5 separate regions of the Homo sapiens genome follow, and all the other regions are linked to region 1. The links are contacts of gene promoters, found by promoter capture Hi-C in human tissues and cell types (Jung and others, 2019). All regions are on one chromosome and are shown on one strand. Each heading gives the region's core, a stretch centred on a gene start or on the middle of the fragment in contact. The rest is flanking DNA. Distances are from core to core; before and after follow the strand shown. Region 1 holds the start of ADAMTS5 (ADAM metallopeptidase with thrombospondin type 1 motif 5). Region 2 has its middle 140 kb from the start of ADAMTS5. Region 3 overlaps LOC102724355 (a long non-coding RNA gene). Region 4 overlaps ADAMTS1 (ADAM metallopeptidase with thrombospondin type 1 motif 1). Region 5 has its middle 170 kb from the start of ADAMTS5.

What was found. The method cuts DNA at HindIII sites, captures the fragments that hold promoters and counts their contacts. A contact is called where the count stands out against the background at its distance.
Region 2: a contact is called between a fragment that was not itself captured here and the fragment with the promoter of ADAMTS5 in region 1, in 8 of the 25 tissues and cell types used here (H1 embryonic stem cells, IMR-90 fibroblasts, aorta and 5 more).
Region 3: a fragment that was not itself captured here is called in contact with the fragment with the promoter of ADAMTS5 in region 1 in 4 of the 25 tissues and cell types used here (IMR-90 fibroblasts, mesenchymal stem cells, mesendoderm cells and 1 more).
Region 4: a fragment that was not itself captured here is called in contact with the fragment with the promoter of ADAMTS5 in region 1 in 1 of the 25 tissues and cell types used here (H1 embryonic stem cells).
Region 5: a fragment that was not itself captured here is called in contact with the fragment with the promoter of ADAMTS5 in region 1 in 2 of the 25 tissues and cell types used here (heart left ventricle and mesendoderm cells).

Annotation. Positions count from the first base shown.
Region 1 is chr21:26,965,473-26,969,577 of GRCh38, reverse strand. It overlaps ADAMTS5 (ADAM metallopeptidase with thrombospondin type 1 motif 5), which reads left to right and starts at 2,490. Exons shown (of 8, transcript NM_007038.5): 1 at 2,490-4,105. The coding sequence starts at 3,187. LOC124905050 reads left to right here. Exons shown (of 3, transcript XM_047441063.1): 2 at 1,608-2,134; 3 at 2,494-2,922. The coding sequence ends at 2,922. The HindIII fragment of the contact is 10,779 bases long and covers 1-4,105 here.
Region 2 is chr21:27,109,488-27,113,839 of GRCh38, reverse strand. No RefSeq gene overlaps it. Among named protein-coding and RNA genes, the nearest start is that of ADAMTS5, 140 kb to the right of the region's middle. The HindIII fragment of the contact is 3,693 bases long and covers 498-4,190 here.
Region 3 is chr21:27,188,576-27,192,981 of GRCh38, reverse strand. The region is part of intron 2 of LOC102724355 (a long non-coding RNA gene); the gene reads left to right. Among named protein-coding and RNA genes, the nearest start is that of ADAMTS5, 220 kb to the right of the region's middle. The HindIII fragment of the contact is 7,167 bases long and covers 1-4,406 here.
Region 4 is chr21:26,833,263-26,837,840 of GRCh38, reverse strand. ADAMTS1 (ADAM metallopeptidase with thrombospondin type 1 motif 1) reads left to right here. Exons shown (of 9, transcript NM_006988.5): 9 at 1-2,086. The coding sequence ends at 262. Among named protein-coding and RNA genes, the nearest start is that of ADAMTS1, 9.9 kb to the left of the region's middle. The HindIII fragment of the contact is 8,671 bases long and covers 1-4,578 here.
Region 5 is chr21:27,131,547-27,135,947 of GRCh38, reverse strand. No RefSeq gene overlaps it. Among named protein-coding and RNA genes, the nearest start is that of ADAMTS5, 170 kb to the right of the region's middle. The HindIII fragment of the contact is 5,679 bases long and covers 1-4,401 here.

The sequences.
Region 1 (4,105 bases), core at 1,241-3,740:
TTACTTTCTAAAAAAAAAATTATATCGAAGTAGAAATTTTCTGAGATGTAAGAATTTATTCATTGTATTCATAAGATTTAGTATTTATTTCCTTGTGAATATATACCTCTAGTAAATATTCTGTGCTTGATATTCATGTTTGGAACTTTATCTGTGTCTATCCTGTTCTCCCCATGTATTTTTAAATATTTGAATAAACTGAGTACAAATGTCACTATATAATTAAACTTAAAGGCATAATATTCAGATTCAGGATTCAGCACGGTGTTTGTGAAAGAGGAGAAAAGCTTCATTAAGAAGAAAATTCAAGCCGTCACTGTGTCTCATCAGGTGGGAGAATCCCTGGAGGTTATGAGTTCAAGACCATCAAAGAAAAGAGAATCTGTTGGAATTTCCTGAAATCCTAAATAACAAAATCTATCTGTGAATGAAAATAATTGTAATTAACAAATTTTAACCACTGTCACCTAAAATGCCTATTAAAATGATTCTTTGGCATGAACAATGACAAAATTGTTAAATTTATTGAATCAAGGTTGTATTAGAAATGGTGTTTAGTGCCAAATATTGGACTCCTTTTCACTGTAACTGGTTAAAAAGATAAAAGTTTGCTATTTGTAGGTGCAAAGCAAGGACCACAAAAGAGAACGGCTAATGCAAGGCTCAAAGGCCTTGGTGGGATAGAGAAAATGGCTGGAACCTCCTATTCTGACCCATCCAGCTGTTAGCATTGGCCTGGGTCAACTGGCCACTGAGAGGCTGAGGCATTGTGGAATTATAAAGCAATGGCCTTCAGCAATAGTAACTTCCTCCCTGGTCCTGATGTATTTCAGAATCTATCAGGGGCTGTTGGGTGTCCCTAAGGCCCCAGTGATTTCTTTATTTATAAGTTAAAACAAGATGATACATCTGCCCCTCACAAGACTCCAGAGGGTGTTCCCAGGCACACGGCAATGGGTATTGTTGCCGGGCAATTCTGAAATTCCTTCCAGAGGATTATTGCCACTCTAAGAACCTCCATCAAGCTCTGGACCCTCATGGTTCCCTCCCAGAGAAAGCGATCAGCTTGGGGCCCCATTAAGGCACCCGCCCTGCTATCCCCAGCGTAGCCAAAGTTAAACGTAGAAAAAGATGGAAATGTACAAATTACACCACATTCATTTTTCACTGGTGCATTAGTTAATTAGCCTGAAGAATAATTTGGGCATGGAGGGAGCTCTTACCCCTACAGTAGAAGGTAGACCTTCTAACCATAAGTCGTCGGGTTTTCCTTCTCCCTTCTTAGAATGATAATTAGAGGAAACAAAGAGGTCAGAGGAAACGAGTAGCAGTGATAATGTCACCCGCGTACTAATAAGCACCAATCTTCCTTCCGCCAAAAGTATTCTTTTTCTTCTAAAAGGAATTTCTGAGAATGAAGGTAGGTCAAGGCCTATGGCGATAAGTGGTTGCTTTAGAAGAGACAAAAACAGATATAGGAATTTATTATTAAAGTATCATTTAAGCAAAAAATAAAAGTATGAGCGCAAAATTTTAAAATCTTTCAGGGAAAAAAAATGAGCGGAATTCCCTCTAAGAGTTAACTCTTTCTCGCTCTGCCTTTTTAGAGCAAAGGAAGTTCCAGTGGGCTGGGAGTAAGGGACAGATTGTGGACCCTGACGAAAGGCGTGCTGGAGAAAGCTGGGAGCCCGCCGTTCGCACACAAAGCTGCGGAGTTCCCAAGCGGCGGGCGTTCTCGCCCCGGGGTACCGCAGCGCGCCAGGAAGCGCCCTGGGCTCTCTGGCTGTCCAGCCGCTCTGCTGGTGGCCGGGAGAAGTTAGTCACCCGGAGCCCGAATCCGGCGAGCGTCAAAGCATCAAGAGGCTGGAGAATGGGGAGGGAGGAAACCGGGTGCCGGGACGGAGGGGAGGAAGCGAAGGGAACGCGGTGGTTAGGGGACGCACGGGAAGCTGAAAAGCTCTGGCTGGTGGATGGAGTTGCACGGTCTGCGAGGCCAGAGCGCACGGGTGTGCAAAGGGGAAAAACTTGCGGCAGGAACTTCCCACCGAGGGCGAGAAAAGCAGGCAAGAAGGAGGCAGGGAGAGACTTGAAACGTCTCAATAACTTTAACCAAAACACCCGTTCAGGAGATGAGGTAAGCCAAGGTTAGCCAACCCCAATTGGTTGTGAAATATCAGACAGACCCGGAGCCGCTGTGGCTTTAAAAGTGGCCAAGGAAATCTGTTTTTCTTGCCCCATTACTTTTTATTTTCCCCTCTCCCCTCCTACCACCTCGCCGGGTCCCAGTCCCTTCCTCCTACTTCGTCTCCCTTTCCTCGATCACCCTCCTCTTTTGCCCTCCCCCATCTGATTAGGCGCGGACTGGGAAGGGTGGGAGTGGTGGGGGAAGCTCTCCCTTTAAGAGGCAGCGTGCAGTGACGAACTGTTGAAATTGCCATTGCAGGATGGCATGCCGCTATAAATTCATTGTTCCACCTCCTCGCATCTTCACAGCGCTCGCGCTGCTCTCGGCGCTCGCAGCTGCCGACTGGGGATGACGGCGGGCAGGAGGAGACCGCAGCCGAAGGGACACAGACACGCCGCTTCACCAGCTCGCCTCAGGCTGCCCCCCTGCATTTTTGTTTTAATTTTTACGGCTTTTTCCCCTCTCTTTCTTCCCTTCCTCCTGGTCCCAGCAGAGCCAAGGAAACCCACAAAATAAGAAAGGAAGTGGGCCCCGGAGCTTGGAACCTCCACAGCCGGCTTGTCCAGCGCAGCGCGGGGGCGGGAGGCTGCGCGCACCAGTTGCCAGCCCGGTGCGCGGTACCTTTCCTTACTTTTCTTGAAACAGCGATCGTGCCTGCATTTGGTGGTTTTTTGGTTTTTGTTTTTTTCCTTTTCCCGTATTTGCTGAATCTCCACTATCCGACTTTTTTTTTTTAATCTTTTCTTTCCCCCCCCCCCCACCCCACCTCTTTCTGGAGCACGAATCCAAACATTTTCCCAAGCAACAAAGAAAAGTTCGCACGCTGGCACCGCAGCCCGGACAGGCTGGCGCTGCTGCCGGGCCCCCCTCCCTCCGACACTTGACTCAATCCTGCAAGCAAGTGTGTGTGTGTCCCCATCCCCCGCCCCGTTAACTTCATAGCAAATAACAAATACCCATAAAGTCCCAGTCGCGCAGCCCCTCCCCGCGGGCAGCGCACTATGCTGCTCGGGTGGGCGTCCCTGCTGCTGTGCGCGTTCCGCCTGCCCCTGGCCGCGGTCGGCCCCGCCGCGACACCTGCCCAGGATAAAGCCGGGCAGCCTCCGACTGCTGCAGCAGCCGCCCAGCCCCGCCGGCGGCAGGGGGAGGAGGTGCAGGAGCGAGCCGAGCCTCCCGGCCACCCGCACCCCCTGGCGCAGCGGCGCAGGAGCAAGGGGCTGGTGCAGAACATCGACCAACTCTACTCCGGCGGCGGCAAGGTGGGCTACCTCGTCTACGCGGGCGGCCGGAGGTTCCTCTTGGACCTGGAGCGAGATGGTTCGGTGGGCATTGCTGGCTTCGTGCCCGCAGGAGGCGGGACGAGTGCGCCCTGGCGCCACCGGAGCCACTGCTTCTATCGGGGCACAGTGGACGGTAGTCCCCGCTCTCTGGCTGTCTTTGACCTCTGTGGGGGTCTCGACGGCTTCTTCGCGGTCAAGCACGCGCGCTACACCCTAAAGCCACTGCTGCGCGGACCCTGGGCGGAGGAAGAAAAGGGGCGCGTGTACGGGGATGGGTCCGCACGGATCCTGCACGTCTACACCCGCGAGGGCTTCAGCTTCGAGGCCCTGCCGCCGCGCGCCAGCTGCGAAACCCCCGCGTCCACACCGGAGGCCCACGAGCATGCTCCGGCGCACAGCAACCCGAGCGGACGCGCAGCACTGGCCTCGCAGCTCTTGGACCAGTCCGCTCTCTCGCCCGCTGGGGGCTCAGGACCGCAGACGTGGTGGCGGCGGCGGCGCCGCTCCATCTCCCGGGCCCGCCAGGTGGAGCTGCTTCTGGTGGCTGACGCGTCCATGGCGCGGTTGTATGGCCGGGGCCTGCAGCATTACCTGCTGACCCTGGCCTCCATCGCCAATAGGCTGTACAGCCATGCTAGCA
Region 2 (4,352 bases), core at 1,095-3,594, 140 kb before region 1:
TGAAAAGAGGGAGAAGAAGCAGTCATCCCTGCCGAGTGCATCTATGTGAATTGCACCACTGAGTTGTGCAGTGCTCAACCTGGGCAGCCTTTTGGGCAACCTTGTAAAGAAAGTTCACAAGTCCATAAGGCCAGCATTATTTCTAAGATAGAGATTACTCGGTTTACAGTTGAGGAGACCAATATCCTGAAAAGGCTGAATGATTTATTTGACCCAAAGAAAGAGAGTAGGGAATAGCCCAGGTCTTCTAATTCTTGTCCTGACATGATTTTGTGACTAAATCTTCGGAGAAAAGGAAATTTAATGAGGTGACATGTATTAGTAAAACATGCAATAGGGATTAGAATTAGCTGTTAAAGAGAGGGAATGTCCTGTTTTTCAAGTATACTTTTGATCTATTGTAGTTTATATATATATATATAATAAATATACAGTTTATAATTTTATATTCCCAAGTCTTCAGGATCTACCACAGATTAATGTTTTATTGATGTCAGATTCAACATCAAACTAATTGAACTACAGGAATATGAAAGAATTAACAAAACATTGAACAGAAGAAACAAAAATACAAGGTAGCCCAGTTCAATTAACTTGCTCAGGAAAATAAACTTCATTAGAGCATTTAGCATAGGGGAGTTTGGAACCATTAATACAAATAATAATCATGAAAGTAGTAAAAATGCCTACTAATAATTAAACGCAAACCCAGATTGAATGTTCATTTATTACCTAGCATGGAGCTTTAAGTACATTGTTTTACACAATCACTTGGAGAAACCCGCGAGATGTAGATTATTATTACCCTTCTTTAATAAAGAAGAAATGAAAGCAAAAAGTTATGTGTGTGTTGGGGGGGTCATTTCAATTTGATCTACATTTATTGAATGTCTACTACAATACCAACTTTATGTTCACTATTGTGTGAGACAAAGATAAATGAGACAGATCCTCAAGTGATTTGAAGCCTAGTGGTTTAAAAAGCTATGCACATAATTATAGGACTGTGGAATTAATTTATTCACATTCTCACAATCTCCCTTTATTACAGAAAATGGATGATCTGAATATAAAAACTAAATGAATTATAGTTAAGCCTGATGATAGTTAGAGAAATAAGTAAAATTAATGAACCCATTAAAGGCAAGATTTAGAGAAAATTCCACTGGTGCTTTAAATTAAAGCATGCTAATAATTACCCTTTTCTCCTCACACAAAGAAGCAGAAAGAAAAAAATGAAAAAAGGGAAAATTAAGATGTTAATTTCTCTTAAAGTCATTTCCTATTCCATTACCCAAGAAAAGTTATTAAATAAATGGAAAGCAGACCTAAAGAGGGAGTTTAGGACACATTATATTGAGAAAAACCAGTTTAGTCACCAGTTTGCAGTATCACATATCCTCTAAAAGGTGAGTGTTTGATGACTGATGATGACTACTGAGAAATCCTCTTTGACTGACTTGAGACTGTAAGTCTCAAAAAGGTGATTGAGGAGGGAAATGACTCCAGGTTGAACTCTGTATTCTATTTCAGCTTAGAGTTGCATATATCTGATGATTATTCCTGAGTTCTTAAATGTCTAGGAAAACATTGGCATCTTGGGCTTAGGGCACTTACCACTTTTTGACAGTAGGATAAGAGCCTGTCCAATGTGAATCAATCATCAACAGCCTTAACAATCTTGTTCCATTACCTCGTTGCTTTTGATATTTACTGAGGGTGAGACAACTTTACAACTTTTTTAACTGGGTTATTTTAAGGCTGTATTACTAATTTTGGAAAAAGCAAAGCATGTGCATAAAAAAGTGGAGAACACTGAAATAGGATTGCAATAATACTAGTGAATAGCAGGATCTTTTTTATTCAAGGGAGAAAAATTTGGCTGACTCACTAATTGTTTCAGTTAATGTATGCTGTCATAGCTAAACTTTTTATTTAGCTAGCTTGACTAATTAAAATGTATGTTTTATTTAGATAATCTCATTTATAACTGAGTAGATGAAGCTTATTGCAGTTAATAGCAAATAGCAAGAATGGCAGTTACTGTTTTAGATCAGTGGTTTTCAAAGTGTGGTTCCTGGACCAGCAATACCAGCATCACCTGGGAATTTGCTAGAAATTTCCAGTTCTACCCCAGCCCTTCTGTATCAGATATACCAGGGAGGAAGTTTGGAATATGTGTTTTAACAAGCTAGCCAGGTGACTTACACGTATGCTAAAATTTAGGAACCACTGTTTTAGACATTAAACTTTAGAGCTCAGAATTGCAAATTCAAATGCTCTGAAAGACCAGGAAGGGTAAACAAATTATCTTGTAAAAAACAATTAAATGGTTAGGCCAGTGGCTCTCTGGAATGTCAGGCCCCATTTAAAAGCACTCACATTCATATTTTGTAAACTTCTATGTTGGTCAAACAAATCATAATTGTGGGCTGAATTTGACCTACCGACCCTTAGTTTGAAAGGCTGGTTCTAACAGCATAAGAATTTAGCAAAAACAGTTTTGTAAAAGATTTACAGTTTTAAGAAAGTTTTATTACAATTTACAAAAAATATATATATATTTTATTTGTAGTTTACCATCCTGGAATGCACCGTGGAAGCTTATTTCATTCCTCAAAACTTTCAAAGCTGTTGATGCCCAGCTGATATTTACAGTGGTTGCATGGTCTGGTGATTACAAAGAAACAGAGGAAATGATGGCTTTAATAACCTGTGCATGACATGATTGCTCTAAAAGGACATAATTTTTGGAGGTCAGTGGAAAATAAAATGTGAAGTGTCCAATCCATTGTCCGATCAAATCTCTCTGAAGAAACATGGGTTCAAGGGAAAAATAAATAAGCTTTTCAAGATGGTGACAGCAGAGTGAGGTCTTTCTGAACACAGGACCTGGATGCACATCTGTGAAGTCAGCCCTGGGTCCAGTGGTCTTTCATCTACCTCCTGTGTATCCTGTTTATCTACACCAGCTATATATCATATTTATCTATACCAAAATTAATGGGCAAGAACTAGGGAAATGGTTGCAGAAAGGTCAACTAAAACAACAATTTTATACTATGAGATATATGATAATGTTGCTTGGAGCTTAAAGAAAGACTCCAAAAACAATAATGAACATGAAACATAAAATATAGCTTAACACTTACTTCTAATAAGACTTGCTCTTAGTAATATTTATGTATAGACTACTTCAGGATAGGAACTTCCCTATTCTCAACCATTTCTGTGATGTGATTGATACTAACCTATACAGCATTATGCTGAGAATGGTATTTAGTAATCGAATTTTCTAAATGAATTAATTAAAATTTTTGGAAGCTAATATAAAATTTTCAGGCTATGTCAAGGTCACAGATATCGCTGACGAAAAGTCAATGCATGTTCCAGATTTCTTAAATGTTTCTCAAAATATAGTGTTTGGGAGGAAAAACTATCAAGGGACCACCCCTCATTTAGGCAAAATAACCACGTGCCTACTTAATGAGATTTAAAGAAACATTTTTAACAGACTCACTATAACTTCAGTGTGAGACATAGCTTTGCATGTTGCCTGAAATTTCATTCATGGTAGGACCACTAATTTGATCAAGACAATGCATTGTCAACAAAGAAATACACCTGACTTTACACTGTTAGGTCAAAACATTATTTTAGAACTGTCAAACCACTGATTTTGCAATAGCGTATCACCGTTCTTAGGGCAAAATCCAAACATCTTACAATGGCTTTAAGACATTTTTATAAGTAGGATCCTCCCCACTTTTTCATCCTATCTCATATAATTTGATCACATGTAGACCATTCTCTGGACACATTTCTTGCAACAGGTTGAGCCTTGTTCACCCCTGACTTTAAATGCAACTGGTTTTTATCAGATTTTTAAATCTAAGCAGAATAATATCTGAGAGAGACCTTCTCTGACCTTCCTGTCTAATACACTGCCTCCATCACCCACCACCAAATCTAGTAACTCCCCATCATCTCCATGGTTACCTCCTTCAAGGCAACCATCACAATTAGTGAATCTCTTTTATTTTTATTTGGCTACTTATTTATAAAGAATATAAACTTATTTGAGTCAGGGATCTACCGTCTCGTATATTCCTACATCCTCAATGCCTACAGTAGTGTCTAACCCAGAGTAGACATTGAATATATATTGGTAAGTGCTGAGTGAATGAATGGTGAATAAAATATCAGAAAGTTATATTTGAGTGGTTCTTTGGAGGGGAAGTTGAAAGTGAAGAGATGTAGGTGAAAGGGAATCATGGAAAGAAAAACTTGGGAGACATTCTATATCCAGAGGCAACATTGTTAAGGAAGAAAAAAATCTCAGTAAGACTTTC
Region 3 (4,406 bases), core at 1,797-4,296, 220 kb before region 1:
TTTCTCTCCTGCTATTGCTTAAGGGTAACAACTCATGGGAAAAATATAGACTATCACACTTTCTAATTTATAGCAGAAATTACACACACAGAGAAATTACACACACAGAAATTACACACACACAGAAATACACAGAATGAAAAAAACTAAAAGGCAAAGGATTTGTGCACTTGACAGTTTCCCCTAAACGCCATTTCTCTAGATGGAATTTCAGTGCATGTAAAGTTCATAGAGTATAGAGCCCTTAGGAATTTTACATTCCTATGGTAAAATAGAATACACGTTTTCTCTTTTAGACTACTTAAAAAATGACTAAAAGCAAAAGTCTATACAAACACAAGCAATCATGTATTTAATCATATTTTTTTTAAAAAATAGTGTGTGGCAGAAACCATCCTAATTTTTTTCAAGTTTTCCAATAATGAGTTCAAGATGTCTTAACCACATGTCACTGAATCCTTGCAAATTTAGGATCGTCTGTAGGACAACAGACTTGCACTTTCAAAGTATGTTTGCTTTCAAGAGGCCTCAGAACTCTGAGACTCTTTCCACCCTTCAGGAACCTCACCATTGAATGACTCACTATGGGTGGGGAGTATGGGATATCACCCTTCATAAGCCCACCAATGTGGTCTTGGCAGTTACTTGACTCCCCTGACAAAATGGGAAATAACACAGGGAAGCCATCATGCTATGTTTTCATGCTACACAGAAACTGTTCTTGCTAAAAATATTACACAGATTTGCAAAGACTTAGAAGTATATAAAACATATTTTGATGCTTTCTCTTTTCATATAGACGTTTGTTTATATTGAGAGTTTATCAAAAAATAGCAGTAATAAACTTAACTTACTGAAAATCAGAGGTATTCTCTAAGACCCCCCAGAGGTATTCTCTAAGACCAAATTCATTCACATTTTAAGATTTTCAATCATATCTTAAATCTTGCCAAAACAATTTGTTATACATAAGGGGAAAGGTCATTTTCCTGAATATGCAGGAAAAAAAAATCACAAAATAATACTGAACTAACCTATCCTCACTTTTAACTTAACTTGAAATAACATCAATAGCTGATTCTGCTTCATGTGTGATTATCAACAACTCATAAAACTGTGACAAGAACAACATTTTTATACTAATTTAATATGTAAGTTCACATTCACATTAAAAAGTCAATTGTAACAGAACTGACTGTAGTCAAGCATATTTTATGTTAATGAAAAAAGGCTAAATGTAAAGTTTCATATTGTTCTCTTGAATTTTTAACAGATTTCTCCAAAATTTGGTACCAACCATAGAGCATGTTTCTTAATGTCTTTTGAAGACTTGAATAGAAAAAAAATAAAATTAACAACTGAATATTCATTTTGATTTTAAGTGGTTGATCAATTACCTTTATGTTTTTCCTATCAAGTAGAGAAATAGTTGAAAGGGCACACGAATCAACATGCATGTGGGGTTGTAGGAGTATCTCATATAATACTGATAAAAGGCAGATCACAAGAAGTGACTTAATTGCATTGCTAATACCATAGCCAATAATTTAATTTACCCCCCAAACTGCTAGCTTCCTCCTCAAGGGCAGTACCCGTCCTGTAGGACTGATGTGAATGTAGAAAGTAAAAGGTTTCAGAAGAGACTAAGCTACGCTTACTGACTTTCTTCGTTTTATTTCAACGAATTGTGAAATAGATACTAATTTTCATTTTACCAATTACATATTTAACCACAATGGTTAAAAAACTGCGAGACACCTGTTATTTTAACCTTGAAACTCCACTTTTCAACAGCACACAGGGACTGTAAGTAGAGAATAACAATATTTGATTTTCCTTTATGAGTAAAGACAGTTAACAGAGATTCCACATTATGAAAAATGGAATTTTATAGCCAGAAAGATCTTAGTGATAACAAATATAAAATAAAGAAACTGAAGCTTAGAAAGGTTAAGTGACTCGCCCAACTTTCCCCAAGCTGATAGTGACAGAAGTAGCATTGAAATACATGCCTCTTGAACTACATATTTTATTGAATGGCTTACCTTACCTTAACTTTCACATCAACTGCTCCACTGACTTATTCATTAGGGGAAAAAGACATTCCTGGGCTTTTAGAATAATCTCTTTGTGGAGCTGATTCACTTTTGGCCATATTTCTTTATAACCACAGCATGTTCATACTTTACAGAGTTCCGATGGGCTGGGTTCCAAAGAGTGTTAGGAACATAGGCAAATGGGACTTGCCAAACTGACTGCTCTTAATGGCCACTTCCAAGAGAGCTTCAGGCCATTAAAAGTCACCTATTCTGTTTTGTTGGGCACACAGCCAGTTAGTTCCACAGCTAGTGTTGTATTGAAACCCAGGGCCTAGCTGATACTTTAGGAAATTTTCCTTTTTTCTTTTCTCATTCCACTTCTCCACTCTAGAAATAAACTTCAAATTACAGACTGATTGTAAAGAATCACTCAATAAAATAATTAATTTAAAGGCCATAGCCTTTTATTCACTTATTATAGATAATAACTTCCTAGTCTACATTTCATTACAGCAAAAAAAGGTAAGCACAAAAACGACTGTTTATACCTGTGCAATAAGTTTGTGTGTGTGTACATGTAAGCATGTGCATGCATGTGGGGTGTGTCGATCATGAAACAGCAAGCAAATAAAACTTACACTTCAGGGGTGCTCATTTGAGTAGGTCCTTTCCAGCGCCCCGGGAGAGGGTCAGCAGCGGGTTCACATGACCATGAAGTGGGTTCACATAACCACATGTTTTTAAAAGATTCACAAAAGTAAGTTACTTTTACTGTAGTTGGTTAAGAGGGCCATGTCTTTTCACTCTCACTTAATCTTCGTCACACTTCACCTGGCATAGAATGTTGTCAAAGTGATTGCAGGAATACTTGAGATCCATCAAGAGGAAGTTGAATAGGGGATACACTTAGTTCTGGTTTAGTGTGCCTCCCAGTCACTGCCACATATAGTCAAGCTAGGCGAGTCAGTGACAGGTCTAGAATACTAACCAAAGTTTTCTGATTTTAATAGTAATGATCTTTACACTGTAGGACAGAGATAAGCAAACATTTTCTGTATTTACCAACTAGTAAATATTCTAGGCTTTGTGAGCCACATATGAGATGTCGTATGTTCTTTAAAAAAAAAAAATCTTTCTTTAAAATATTCAAGGCCGGGCGCGGTGACTCACGCCTGTAATCCCAGCACTTTGGGAGGCTGAGGCGGGCAGATCATGAGGTCAGGAGATCGAGACCATCCTGGCTAACACGGTGAAACCCCGTCTCTACTAAAAATACAAAACAAAATTAGCCGGGCGTGGTGGCGGGCACCTGTAGTCCCAGCTACTCGGGAGGCTGAGGCAGGAGAATGGCGTGAACCTGGGGGGGCAGAGCTTGCAGTGAGCCGACATGGCACCACTGCACTCCAGCCTGGGCGACAGAGTGAGACTCCATCTCAAAAAAAAAAAAAAAAAAAAAAATTGTCATACATTAGATAAGTGCATATAATTCTTCTGTTTTTGAACTCTGTATTCTGTGTGATTGGTCTATTTGCTGACATTTTCCCCAATATCACAAATCTTATTTACTATAGATTTGTAACAGGTCTTAATAATTGGTGTTATCAATTCTCCAGAGTTTCTTGGCAATTATTTGATCTTTTCAATTTAATATACATTTTAGAATCAGCTGATTAAGTTTAGATTAGGATTGAATTAAAATTATAGATTGATTTGTAATAATTGACAACTTTCCAGAGTCTTGCATCTACAATAAAATATACGGATGTGGTCTATTTCTAGATATATTTAGGTCTTCTTAAGTTTATTTAAATAAGATGGTATAGCATTGATTGTAGAAATCTTTGGCATCATTTTAAAATTTGCATCTATGTATTTAATATTCTCTTTCATTTTCTGTACAGTGTTGGTTTATAGAAATGGAAATGTTGTATATTATTATTACATTCTGATACTTTACTAAATTTACTCATTAATTCTAATATAGTTTTGAAATTAGATTTTCCAGGTACACAATAATAGTCTGCAATCAATTAAAACTATTACTTCATTTTCAATCTTTATATAGTTTCTCTCTAGTATAATGTTGATGAAAAGTGATATTAGAAATTGTCAATCTTTCTTCTCCAATCTCAGGTGGAAAGTTTTCAATAAGGGATGATAAGGTTAATGCTGGCTACAAAGTTTTCTGTAGATACTGTTCATCACTTCCCTTTTATTTCTAGTTTGTAAAGATTTTTTAATCGTAAGTGTGTGTTGAATTTTCTCCCTTGTTATGTTAACATGTGAATTTTATGTTAACATAGTGAATTATTACAACTAATTTTCAAATGTTAAAACATACTTGCTTGACATATTACCATTTTTGAA
Region 4 (4,578 bases), core at 2-2,501, 130 kb after region 1:
CCGAGACATTAATGGACAGCCTGCTTCCGAGTGTGCAAAGGAAGTGAAGCCAGCCAGCACCAGACCTTGTGCAGACCATCCCTGCCCCCAGTGGCAGCTGGGGGAGTGGTCATCATGTTCTAAGACCTGTGGGAAGGGTTACAAAAAAAGAAGCTTGAAGTGTCTGTCCCATGATGGAGGGGTGTTATCTCATGAGAGCTGTGATCCTTTAAAGAAACCTAAACATTTCATAGACTTTTGCACAATGGCAGAATGCAGTTAAGTGGTTTAAGTGGTGTTAGCTTTGAGGGCAAGGCAAAGTGAGGAAGGGCTGGTGCAGGGAAAGCAAGAAGGCTGGAGGGATCCAGCGTATCTTGCCAGTAACCAGTGAGGTGTATCAGTAAGGTGGGATTATGGGGGTAGATAGAAAAGGAGTTGAATCATCAGAGTAAACTGCCAGTTGCAAATTTGATAGGATAGTTAGTGAGGATTATTAACCTCTGAGCAGTGATATAGCATAATAAAGCCCCGGGCATTATTATTATTATTTCTTTTGTTACATCTATTACAAGTTTAGAAAAAACAAAGCAATTGTCAAAAAAAGTTAGAACTATTACAACCCCTGTTTCCTGGTACTTATCAAATACTTAGTATCATGGGGGTTGGGAAATGAAAAGTAGGAGAAAAGTGAGATTTTACTAAGACCTGTTTTACTTTACCTCACTAACAATGGGGGGAGAAAGGAGTACAAATAGGATCTTTGACCAGCACTGTTTATGGCTGCTATGGTTTCAGAGAATGTTTATACATTATTTCTACCGAGAATTAAAACTTCAGATTGTTCAACATGAGAGAAAGGCTCAGCAACGTGAAATAACGCAAATGGCTTCCTCTTTCCTTTTTTGGACCATCTCAGTCTTTATTTGTGTAATTCATTTTGAGGAAAAAACAACTCCATGTATTTATTCAAGTGCATTAAAGTCTACAATGGAAAAAAAGCAGTGAAGCATTAGATGCTGGTAAAAGCTAGAGGAGACACAATGAGCTTAGTACCTCCAACTTCCTTTCTTTCCTACCATGTAACCCTGCTTTGGGAATATGGATGTAAAGAAGTAACTTGTGTCTCATGAAAATCAGTACAATCACACAAGGAGGATGAAACGCCGGAACAAAAATGAGGTGTGTAGAACAGGGTCCCACAGGTTTGGGGACATTGAGATCACTTGTCTTGTGGTGGGGAGGCTGCTGAGGGGTAGCAGGTCCATCTCCAGCAGCTGGTCCAACAGTCGTATCCTGGTGAATGTCTGTTCAGCTCTTCTGTGAGAATATGATTTTTTCCATATGTATATAGTAAAATATGTTACTATAAATTACATGTACTTTATAAGTATTGGTTTGGGTGTTCCTTCCAAGAAGGACTATAGTTAGTAATAAATGCCTATAATAACATATTTATTTTTATACATTTATTTCTAATGAAAAAAACTTTTAAATTATATCGCTTTTGTGGAAGTGCATATAAAATAGAGTATTTATACAATATATGTTACTAGAAATAAAAGAACACTTTTGGAATGTGTGTGTCTGTTTTTTGAAGTGGGAATTCATTCCTAGGAAGGAAACCTGAGGCACAAATATTGAATCTGAAGACCGAATTATTTTCTTAAATTATTTGGCAATAAGATTTTGTTCTAGAGGAAGGTGAAGCAAGACGGCTGAATAGAAGATTTTTTTCTAATGAGATGTATTTCTTATATCCTTGGTATACATGATTGCTAAAAAGAAAGAAATTTATGATGTCATTTGTTACTAATGTATCTAATAATATACATCAGTGGTTGGCAAACTTCTTTTGTAAAAAGCCAAATGGTAAATATTTGCAACTTTGTCAATCCTGTCAATAACTATCCTGTCAATACCATCTATGTCACAACTGCTCAACTGTGCTGTTGTAGCACAAAACTAGCCATAAAGAATGAGTAAGTGAATGGACATGGCTGTGTTCTAAAAAAACTACTTGCAAAAACAAATAATGGGTCAGATTTGTTCTGCAGATTCAGTTTGCCAACCCTGGTATATACCATAAATTAAATGGAAAGAGCTTTCAGTTCTGGATGCTTTTTGAATTTGTATCTCTTCCTCAATTATATCCCATAAGTAAAAATACGTGAAAGTATTTAGCTATTGAGTAGAAAACAATGACTCATAAATTACATGTAGTAACGTTAGACATACATGGTGAGTTAAACCCTCTAAATGCTTCACTTGCTCATCAGGAATACCTGAGGGGTTTTGGAGAAAACTTGGAAAGCCCAGGCCTTTCTGCATAGTCTTTTTGTAAATCACTGTCTTTTAAATACTAAGTGGCATATCAATAACTAAAAGTTCAGATTCCTTCCAAAGTAACTACACTTCTCCCAGGAAATAGTATTTACTAGAAGACTCAGATTATGTGGTTAACCACAGACATTTTGAACTCTACGTTTTTCTTCTTTTCCTTGAAAGGAGGAGTTTGTGCCCTCTTCTGTTGCAGTTTGATAAAGACACACCCAAGACTGGGAAAAAAAAGAGGTTTAGTGGACTCACAGTTCCACATGGCTAGGGAGGCCTCACAGTCATGGCGGAAGGCAAGATGGAGCAAGTCATGTCTTGCGTGGATGCGGCTGGCAAAGAGAGAGAGCCTGTGCAGGGGAACTCCTCTTTATAAAGCCATCAGATCTGATGAGACTTATCCACTATCACAACAACAGCACAGAAAAGACCCGCCCCCATGATGCATTTACCTCCCACTGCATCCCACAACACACAGGAATTATGGGAACTACAATTCAAGATGAGATTTGGTGGGGACACAGCCAAACCATATCACAGGTATTACAATATAGCATGCTAGTTTTTATGTATAGGTGATAATTTCTAACTTACTCTCAGTTATTCAAAGTGTTCTTCCCCTGAGCAATTGAACATATCATTCTCAGCAGTCAGGTGTACAGGTGCAGAGAATCAAATTAATTTCTGGTTATTTTTTTTTCCTACCTACTAGACTAAAGGACTGAAAGTTAAAGTCATCTTCTCACATTGTGGGAACTAGTCTTGCTCCTCCAGAACTCATTTAAACGCAGAATTTAATCATTCAATTCAGTGGCCTAACTTGCCACTTGCAACAACAACCTCTCACAATAAATTATTTGTCTACATTAGTGCAGTACAAATCCCCACAGTAAGTGACATGGAGGATATACATGAGAAATGCCCTGACCCTCATTAACTATACATGCCATTTGAGAAAATGAGATATATAAATCTAAAATGATAGCTCATAAGATTAAAAAGTCACTTTTAGATCTTGCCTCATTCACCAGAATTCTTTTCTTTTTAATAGCTTAGATTGATTTGATGTAAGTAATGACACTAAACTTCAGGACACTAAGAGATCAAATCAGCCAAAAAATTTCCTATCATCCTCTCAGATCAAGGCAATGTCAGACAACTTTCTGGTGTTGCCACATTGTTTTTCAGCCCTCTGCTGGTGAAATTTTTTTTTCATCAGTAGGCTGAGTAGTTTAAGATACTCTGCTGGCAGAGATTAGCTCAAAACACACATCCTGGTTTTAGAAGATTGATTAACCGCTTGCTTGAAAGAAGGAGAGATTTTGTGCTCTCTCCTGTTACAGGTATAAATGATGAGCTGTGCCTCTGCTGAAAGAAACTTTCCACAGTGGAAAGATCAGGGACTCAAGGCCTGCAGTCTGGTTTCCTTTGTCCCATACGATGCTCCTTTAATGTGATGCACTCCCACACCCCTAAGAGTAGCGGTCCCTGAGGGCCAGACTACCGTGAATACTGCTGCTCCTCTGGGTCTCATCCCCAGTGAGGTTTCCATACTCCATGCTGGTGCTGGTGAATGTTTGCAAGGGATCCAGTGATGTGATCTGTCTGGTCCCCCAGCAGTGGATATCAGTACCAGCTCAGTTGTGGGTGGGAAGGGAGTGACGTAGACCCTGTGAGATTTCCGTGGTTATAAATAGCCTTAGTGTGTTGGCCTTCTCAAATACGGCTGTGGTGGTCATGTACTGGGCACATGGACAGACTCAAGATCTACTGGCTAGCCAGGGTGATGTAGGCAATGGTGATAGTTGAGGTTGTGCAAGTTTTCTCCTTCCTGGGCACTGTGTTATTGTACCTGCAGATGTTGTAATGGGCTGTGCCACTTGGCCTCCAGCCAGGAGGTGGCACTTGCAAAAGAATGCCAACTGTGTTGGTAGTTTTGGGATTCGTGCTTGCCTTATGTTACCATGGGTAGGGGAGTCGGGGGGAAGGGAGTGGCGTACTCTGGTATTTCAGGCAATGTGCAGGGCCATGGAGCTCCCAGGAGTCTCTGTCCATTGTATCACACTACCAGGGCAGATGAAGGGGCAAAGCCAGGTGGGGACTGGGTCAGGCAAGTTTGCTGTTTGGCTCCCCACTTGTGAGTACAAGCAGCAGCCCCAGTGGTGATCAGAGGGCAACTCCCTGCCTGCTGGGGTAATGTTACAGGGAGGAGTATAGCTGCCTCTGCTGTACAAATGAATCCACATGGGGAGTCGGGGGTAGCAGGTG
Region 5 (4,401 bases), core at 1,344-3,843, 170 kb before region 1:
CTCTTTATATCATCACCAGCAGCATGTGAGACTTCTGCTTGTTTCACATATCTTCCAACATGGTATTAGCTGTTTTGCTTTTTGAATAATACTAGTTTTTCAACCACTATTTTTCATAGTTTTTTTTCTAAGCCCATAGTAATATTTCAATCACTATTTTTCATAACTATTCATAGCTTTAAGTACATTCACTGTTTTTAAAATCGCATGTATTCTTGACTGATGGTTTAACATCATAAAGCGTGAGATTATTTTTTTCTTCTGATGTTTGGTTTTTCTGTATTTTTTGGTTTGCTTTACCGGTTGGTAAAACAGATACATAAGGGTTTTTTAATAGAAAAAAAGCATTAAAGAGAAAATATGCCCTTAAAACAAGCATTTTAAAAAAAAAAACCTTTTTAGGATTAGCAGTTTTTCTATTTATATCCAAGTCAGAAGTAGCAGATGGAACTCTTTCTAATAACCTGATAATTTTTCCATATCCTACAGGCATTACTTTCTCTCTAAACTTGAATGATAACCACATGAAAAACAGCGCCCAATTTCAGGCCCATTTCATTGGAATGCTGAAGCTGAGTCCATTGACATATATCAAGGACACATTTCTCAGGTCTTTCATGTACATGATCTTATTTATTCCACCAAAAAAAAAAAAGCCAAACAAACTTGTGAGATATTACAAGTGGAGTTCAGAAAACTTGCGGCTCCTTCAAAGTTACATAACCTATAAATGGCAAAGTTGGGTTCTGAAATGAGATCTGCTAATTCAACATTTTCCTACTTATTTTGCTGAAGAAATCTCTTTTCATAGAACACTTGCAAACATCTTGCGGGACCTGTTTCCTACAGACAACGGTTTGGAAAGCATTATTCTAATTCCAATTCCAATCAACTTCCCATTAAACCACAGATGTCCTCCTAAACAAGCTATGTGATTAAACTATATTTAAAACAGCATAGAAATTCAGGCTATCAAAATTAAATTAGTCTCAGCATTCCATTTTGTTACTTTAGGTGAAGGACAGAGTTAAAAGGATTACTTCAGAAATGTCCATATTTAAACATCCTTAGCTATTTTTATTCCAAACATACTAACTTTCATAATTTGATTCAGAAGGAACTAGTTCTTACATATCTAATTCATGAACACTTTAAAAAAAATTATCTCCTCAGTTACCTCTCTGTTCCCTTAACCACTAGGACCAGATGGTATGGCTGGCAGCCAAGACTAACATGCATCTTTACAAATGTACACAAGATGGGGAAGAGATGATAGTCAATACCGTAATCTTAGCATTGTAGTGTCAGAAAACAAGTTCATGAGGGAACACACAAGGACAACAAGAACACAAAACCTAATTTATTTGCATACTTTTCCATGTAAATTAATGGAACCTGCCTGAGTTCAGGGCAGGCCTATTGACTTAGGTACCTTCAGATTTTGGCACTTACTGTGAAACTCTACTTACGTAGAGTTGACTAAATGTAACGTAGTGTTTTAAGTGCTTTCCACTTTGTAATTTATTAATATATCCGGGCATTGAAGTAGGTTGTATTATTACCACTTTTTGACAAGTAAGAATATTAGGACCCAGAATACTAAGTAACTTGACCAACATTGCATGATTAGCAAACAGTTGAGTCTGATTTGAACAACAGCCATCTGAAGCTGGACTCTGCTCTCATCCATAGCCACCAAACTGCCTTCCAAGACCTCCAGGAAGTCACTCACACCTTTCTAGTTGTTAATCTCTCCCTTTTCAGAATTCAGATAGATGTTTCTTAAGCTCACACTCTCTCTCTCTCTCTCTCTCTCTCTCTCTCCTGTTTTCTCTAGATCTCAAACTTTTTTTTTCTTTTTTGGAGCAGACTGACCAATTTCCTTTTATGTATTTAGCCTGAGCATTATCTCTCATTTAATATGTCATGAATGAATGGGAGAAGGAGTAGAACTAGAAAGCATGCCTTCATCATCCTCTCAATGCTTAAAAGGAATTTTCTCTTTGCATAGTGAGTTCAGAAGGACAATAGAGCTGACAAATGCAAATAAAAGGACCTATGCAAGCTTTTCCAATTTGTGTAAATATTTCATGTTACATGGACCAAAGCAATCATAATAAAACCAATTCGATTGATACATTCAGGCATTAGCCTTCTTTTAGTTGACTTAATTCTCTTTTTTTCTTGATGCCTTAGTACTTTTGAAGCCAGATTTGTCCTTCATAGCCTGAGGATTAATTTTTGCATTGGGAATACCATAACTAAATACTCAAGAATCTAGAAATAGAGGCAGAAAATCTTAAAATTATTGTATACAAGCCTGGATGTCAACATTTCAATGTTATTTCTTTGTTCCATGAGGATTCCAGTATAGGAAGACCCTCAGTGATAGCCTTCCTTCCTGTGAACAGTGAGGTATATTCCACTAATCTTTTAAATCTAACCCATAGGCAACTATCTTGGTATTCTGCTCTGATTGAAGTATTTCCTTAGTCTGCTCAGCACTTTCCCAGTGGCCTTTCCCTAGGGGCTCATAACTTCAAGGCTGTGACTCTCTAGAGCAACTGGTACTCAGTCCCCTTGTTTTCTATTTCTGTGAAGCATCTTATCAAATAGTTTAAGGAAGATATTTTCAGAGATATTAGCATGTCGCTAGTTCCCTGGAAATAAAGGACACTTTAAGTGTGGAGAAGAAAAGCTGCTCATCTTTATTTCAAGGTTACGTGCAGAGATGCAACTCACCGACATTCTGACAAAAGATATTCTGAAAATAAAAGATCAATCACCTTAAATGTGGCCAAGAAATTCCTGCTGTTTGGCTTTCACAGTAAGTGCCAAAATCTAAAGGGGCCTATGGCTTCAGTAGGAAAAAAGAAAGACACATGCATTTTATATGTGACTATGGATCCACTGTGTGCAGAATGTCAAGACTTGGGACAAATGCATTCAGTTATAAAAATGCATTCTTTTGTTTCTCTACACTACAGCCTTGGAGATAACAATGCTTTATTTTTGTTTGTTTTACATTTTGTTTTATTTTTTCCTTCTGAGCCAGTATTTACTGAGTGTTTTTACTGAGCTGGGCACTTCACCCAGATTTCTTATTTAATCCTCACAGCAGTGTTCTGAGACAGTCATTCCCATCACCATCCTCGTTACATTACAGACAAGATAACAGATTTCAAAAGGTTAAATAACTTGTCCAAGGCCACACAATTAGTACTGATCCTGCTGAACTTCAGAGTCTATCAGCTCAGCACCATGTTATGCTGCTCTCAAGGCCCTACTTTGGGACTTAAAATCATTCATTCTTTCTCTCCCCAGAAACTCCCTGGAAGCTCAAGGTGTTCTTCATCCCACTCCTGTCTACTCCTCACGGCCACTTCAGCCTTGTTGCTTCCAGGACCTCAGTGCTTACCACAGCAGCTGTTGCTGCCAGAGTGCCAAAGTAGAAGGAATGTTTTCCCTTGAGTGATTTCAGATCTATGCTTAAGGCTGCCCACATTCCCCACAGGTCCCTCCAAGTAAAATGGTTTCTTCAATTTCGCAATCACCATTCTCAAACATACACACAACATATGACCAGCTTCTCAGGACAAGTAATCATAATGTTATTATTGAGTGCTTGCCATATGACATTATTTTGTTTAATGTTCCAAGCAACTCTGTAAGTTATTTTACATACTAGGAAAGAGCGGGCTGAGAAATGAGAGCAGAAATGGAATATGACCTTATTTTGTACTCAATAAAAGCACCTTTCCATTGATTAAAGCCTGGTATTTCCTGTTGGGGATACATTTTCTGCTGACACCTCCCACAGGCTGAGTGCCTGTTTTCCCAGGACGCTTGTCTTCCTCAGAAGTCAACATAAACATTGTTTTCTTCAAGGGTGTCATGTTAATTTTTCAGGAGCCGGCTCTCTGGACCTTCCTAAAAATTAAGCCTATAAAGACCATCTCCTGATAATACAGGGAGCTACTGAATATCGTAAAATGTATTTATATAGTATCTCCAACATCATAGAACTCGACTACATTGTTCTCAAGTGGATCCCAGATTTTTATATGACCTTGCTGATATAGTTATCAAAACTAGCCAGATGCCTTGCTGTTGAGTTTCTGCTTGCTAATCAACTTTTTCATGTTCAGTTTGATTTCCCAAATACCTTAACTATGAGGGAAGTAGCCTAATGGTGAATGGGAACACTTCAGTCCCTGAAAGGTCTAGCCTTATTGGCATTCTATGTTGGGGTTTTGAAGATGTTAATTTTACATCACTTTCGTATATTTGACCGAATCTTTATATCACATTTTATTATATATTAATATTTCATTTTTAACTTACTCTCTTTTTTTTAACTTATATACATACAGCCAAGGGAAAAAAACAAACAAACTTTGG